Regions from separate parts of the Homo sapiens genome. Here region 1 is linked to region 2. The links are contacts of gene promoters, found by promoter capture Hi-C in blood cells and fetal thymus (Javierre and others, 2016). All regions are on one chromosome and are shown on one strand. The core of a region is centred on a gene start or on the middle of the fragment in contact, and the rest is flanking DNA. Distances in the headings are between cores, read along the strand shown.

Region 1 (2,763 bases), core at 210-2,709, 290 kb before region 2:
TAACATATATTATATATAATATAATATATAACATATATTATATATAATATAATATATAACATATATTATATATAATATAATATATAACATATATTATATATAATATAATATATAACATATATTATATATAATATAATATATAACATATATTATATATAATATAATATATAACATATATTATATATAATATAATATATAACATATATAATATATAACATATAGCATATATAATATATAACATATAACATATATTATATATAACATATAACATATATTATATATAACATATAACATATATAATATGTAACATTATATATAACATATATAATATGTAACATTATATATAACATATATAATATGTAACATTATATATAACATATGTTATATATTTCAGCCTCAAGGAAGAGGATACATCCCTACCCACTAAGTGTGGGCTGGGCTGTGCATGATGCGTTTGTTCCCTCCACGGAGTATAGGGGAAAGAGTCACTTTACAGTGTCAAAATCTGACACATACTACCTCAGCTGGGTGATCAAGGTCAGTAGCAACAGTGATAAATCATGTTAGTACATGTCTTTCATATAATGATAAAAATGGCATTTTACCTCAGTGGTCTTCCTCCCCAAAGTCCATAACCCCAGTCTAATCATGAGAAACACATCAAATAGATTCCACAGAGAGACATTCTACAAAACACCTGACCAGTACTGCTCAACTGTCAGGGTCATCAGAAACAGGGGAAGTTTGAGAAACTCTCACAGCCAAGAGAAGCTTAAGGAAATATGTCAAGTAAATGGATGGGATCTTGGAGCAGAAGACTTTAGATAAAAGCTAAGAAAATGTGAATGAACTATGGACTTTAGTTAATCATGTAGCAATATGTAACAAGGGTACCATGCTAAGGTCAATGACAGAGAAAACTGGGTGAGAGAGTCTATGGGAATTCTCTACTGTCTTCTCAATTTCCCTATGAGTTTAAAACTGTTCTAAAAATAAAGCCTGTTAAAATGGTATGGGTTCTAGAAAGTTATAGGTAAAAAGAAAATGATACCTTAAAACTGTCTCTAGATCAGGGTTGGCAAACTTTGTTTGCAAAATATCAGCTAGTAAATATTGTAGGCTTTGAAGCCTTAAGGTGTCTGTTGCGACTACTCAACTCTGCTGTTGTGTGTTACAAGAGCAGCCATATCTTAACAAGTAAGTGTGGCTGACTTCCAATAAAACTTTATTTAGCAAAAACAAAGTCCACAGGCCTCAGTTTGCAAACCCCTGCTCTCATGTATATAAATGAAGTCAAAGTGCTAGGTCACAAATTTCCATCACATTGTGGTGGAAAGCATCAAGTTGTATTGCATCAAATACACATTCATCAGAAACAGCAGAAATGGATTAACATTGAAGTCCATGTCTTGCCCAGAACTTAGCGTTTTTACTACAATTGTGTCTCACTGGGTTATTTTTTACTTCCTTCTTCTGAGAAATGCCTATTTGCAGCTTTTGCTCATTTTCTGCTGGGCTGTCCTTTTTTCTAATGCATTGGCAGGAGTTCTTTATGTATTCTGGATAGTAATCTACCAGCTACAGATGTTGCGTATATTTTCTCCTGGTCTATGGCCTGCCTTTCACTTTTCTTTTGGTGTCTTTTGATGAACAGAGTTAATTTTAATGTCGTCTGGTTTATTAATGTTTCCTTATTGTAGTTAGTGCTTTTTCTCTCTTGTGTTTAAGAAATCATCTCAAACTCAAAGTCAGAAAGATACTCTTCTATATTTTCTTTGAACAGTTTTGAAGTCTTGCCTTTCACCTGTAAATCCTCCGTGTACCTGAGATTTACTGAAAAGTACAGAATATATGGAGGAGGAAGGGATTCGATGTTATGTTTTTCTACGTGGATGCCCAGTAGTCCCATCCCTGTTGCCTCCTCCCATGTTGGTCTGGAGTGCCATCTGCCATGTCACTGAGAGGATTACATTATATAATGCAGGAAATGTGCTTGGCCTAGCCCCCAGCTTCAATTTAGTGAGACTGTGACTCTGAATTCCCCTTCCTTTCCAGGCTCTAGGGGAGCTGGGGCTCACAATCTTCTGCTTTCAATAATGCTTTTCCTAAACATGAAGACCATAATGTAACGAGGGCTTCTGGCTACAGCAAGCTTGCACATCCACCAGTGAACCAGGGTAACAGGACAGCAGCAGAAGGGGTCCTCACCCTCTGAGCACTGCAAAATGAACAGCTCGGCACTCCTCCTGCAGCTCAAACATTTGCTAAAGCACTTTTAAACAGGTCCTCAGTCAAGGACACTGGGAGATGGCAATTAAGTCTTCTTGAGACTCCAGGGGCCCTGGTGGCAGTGGCTGGGAAATCTGACCTGGTGAACAGATAAGAAATGCTTATAATTAGCACATTCAATGTGAAATACATGTGATTGCACAGATTGTAATTTTCCAAACTGTCAAGACAATTCTCCAACAACTCTTCACTCATAAGGAGGCTCAGCATGGCCATTGTATATGCTACTAATTTCCTTGTTTTCATAGAGAGCAGATAGAAACCCCAACTCACCTTGTCTATATGTCCGTCAAATCTAAATTCAAGGAATTGAAATGAATACGGACTTAATCTTACAGATATGTCTTAGATCATTTTCTTATTGAGGTAAAACTTACATTCAATAAAATTTTACAGATCTGAAGTGTCCAGCTTATGAAACTTTTCCGTATATGTACACCTGTATTATTGCCACCTAGATCTGCATATTTAACA
Region 2 (2,700 bases), core at 193-2,692:
CGAGAAGCCCACGGAGAGGCAGGCAGGGACGCAAGTGGCCAAGGAGTGTAGTTTAGGTATGGGGGTCTCTGGGCTCTCAAGGCCCAACATTTGGCTCTACGTCCCGGTGAGCGCGGCCTCGGCGCATCGGGAAGCGGAGATACTGTGGCACCGAGGCGCGTTCATTCCCGGGGCTCGCAGGGTAGCCCGCGGGTGGAGAGAAAGGAGGCTGGTTCCCTGGGAGGTTCAGGGCGCGGGCGAGGGTTTACGGGGGCCGGTGAGTGTAGGGGTCACTGACCTGCCCGTTCTTGCAGAGGTCCGCCCACATGCTGGTGCCGTCGCCGCCGCGCATGAGGATGTGGTAGGTGAAGAAGTAGATGCCGCGTACCTGGCAGCTGAACTTGCCCGTGGTGGGGTCATAGTGATTGCCGAGGTTGGTGACCACGTCATCGAACTTCAGCACCTCATAGCCTTCGTGGGGGCTCTTGAGACCCACATAGAAGGCGATCTTGGGGCCGCTGAAGGTGGCGCTCAGCGCACTGGTCACTTCACCCTCGGAATCGCCACCTACCCCGGCCCCGCCGCCCACCACCCCGACGCCGCTGGCCGTGCCCGCCGTCAGTTGCAGCCCTGGCAGCCCGGGCCGCCCCGAGTCGCCCTTCTCTCCCGGAGGGCCCCTGGGTCCAGGCGGGCCCGGCTCTCCAGGGGGCCCCCGCGGCCCTGGCTTGCCCGGTCGCCCCGGGTCGCCCTTGGGTCCCTGGATGAAAGGAGGAGGAGGGTTGGCGCTGAGGTCCTGCATGACTTCCAGGGCGGCGGTGCTGGGTCCGGGTGGCTGCGCCTTTGCACCCGGGGGCTCCCCGCCGGGCGCGGCAGTGTAAGGGTCGCAGATCATGCGGCAGGTGCCCATCATCTCATAGTGCGCGGCGCCTCGGGGCGCCGCCTGCAGCAGCAGCGGCACGGCGATGAGCAGCCCGAGCGCCATGGCCAAGAGTACGCCGACGGCCGCCAGGCAGGCACGCCGCCGCCGCTGCCACAGCCGGGAGGCGACCGCCACCAGCTCCTCCTTGCCGCCCGGGGAGGTAATGGTGGGGCGGCGCGGGCGGCCCCGCTCCCCGCGCTCGGGGACCGGCTCCGCGGGTCCTGGCCGCGCCCCCGACGTGGCGACCCCCAGCCCCGGCTACCCAACTACTTCAGCGAGAGGCGCCGGGACCTCTGAGCCTGGGCCCACCGCGCTGGGGCTGGTCGGGAGAGCCGCGGACGCCCGCGCGCATGACGTGGGGCACACAAGACGAATCCGGCGCCCCGAGGGTCCGGCGCCGGCCAGGGAGTGCTTGCGCTGGCCGGGGAGTCTGCTTGCGGCGTCCGGCGCTGGCTCCGCGGCGCTGCCTCCCGCCAGGCTCCGCTCCGCTGGGTTTAGTGGGGCTCCTAGCGCAGTGAGGGCGCCCCGGCTCCGCGGCGCGCTCTGCTGTGCTCTCTCGCTGTTCGCTGGCTCCCGCGCGGAGGGGGGACCCCGCTACCCTGACGTAAGGAGTCCGGGGCTGAGCGGCGGAGGCGGCGAAGCAGCGCGCGCTGCCATCACTCGGGAGACGGAGCCCTCATGTCATCAGCCTCCTATCTGGCGGCGTCCTCGGCAGAGGCGGTGAAGGCGCGGTTCCCCCTGGCGGCTCCCAGGAGCCACAAGTGGGCGCAGCGGGCGCGGTCCCAAGCCGGGGCACATCGGACACACCCACCCGCGGCCACACTCACGCGCCCCCCACCGATAACACACACAGACACCCACGCACGCAGTGGCGGGGCACGCACAGCCACCCCCACATGGCCACGAAAGCAGCTGGAATCCAGGTGTCAGCAGGGCTCCTCTGGGGTCACCTAATCCATCCCCTGGCCTGCAAAGAGGATCAAACCTCAACCCACCGAGTCCAGGAGAGTCCCGTGAGGTCCAGCGGGAAGGAGTTTCTGAAAGACCTCCTGAGTTATTTCTTCAGAATTGAATAGATCTCGCTTCTGGAAGATCTTTCGCAAACCTAGACTAAGGACTCCAGACTCTTAAACAGGCTCCCGTAGAGCACCCCACTAACCTCTGAGGTGACTCTAAAAAGCCCAAGGCTCCCAATACAAGAATATTTGCGGCCGGGCGCAGTGGCTCACGCCTGTGATCCCAACACTTTGGGAGGCCGAAGCGGGCAGATCACCTGAGGTTGGGAGTTTGAGACCAGCCTGACCAACATGATGAAACCCCGTCTGTACTAAAAACACAAAATTAACTGGGCATGGTGGTGCATGCCCGTAATCCCAGCTACGCGGAAGGCTGAGGCAGGAGAGTCGCTTGAACCAGAGAGGCAGAGGTTGCGGTGAGGCGGGATCGTGCCATTGCACTCCAGCCTGGGCAACAAAAGCAAAAGTCCATCTCAAAAAAAAAAAAAAAAAAAAGGAATATTCGCCTCAGACCTTTTCTTCCACCAGAAAATGGCTGGCCCTTGTCCTCTGCGTGAAGCTGGTGTAGAAACCAAATGCTTGATGCCGGCACTTGGCAGTGATCATGGTGCACTCAGCTTCTACTCCAAGCCCGGCCACTGCCAGGCAGATGCATGGGCACATTCCCTTGGACATCCCCAGCTTCCTCCTCCTGAGATGGGTTTAGTTATTTTAGAAAATAGTCCAAATAGTCCAAAGCCATTCTGAGCCAGTCTTGAATAAACCATGGCCTCAGATGAGAGCAGA

What was found. Contacts are between HindIII fragments. The CHiCAGO score rates a contact against its expected background, and 5 or more counts as called.
Region 1: a contact is called between a fragment that was not itself captured here and the fragment with the promoter of C1QL2 in region 2, in 4 of 17 cell types (monocytes, M2 macrophages, M0 macrophages and 1 more). The highest score is 8.2, in monocytes.

The regions. Positions count from the first base shown.
Region 1 is chr2:118,867,832-118,870,594 of GRCh38, forward strand. No RefSeq gene overlaps it. Among named protein-coding and RNA genes, the nearest start is that of EN1, 22 kb to the left of the region's middle. The HindIII fragment of the contact is 1,381 bases long and covers 770-2,150 here.
Region 2 is chr2:119,157,309-119,160,008 of GRCh38, forward strand. It overlaps C1QL2 (complement C1q like 2), which reads right to left and starts at 1,443. Exons shown (of 2, transcript NM_182528.4): 1 at 278-1,443. The coding sequence starts at 961. RefSeq lists an enhancer at 1-621. The HindIII fragment of the contact is 3,837 bases long and covers 1-2,700 here.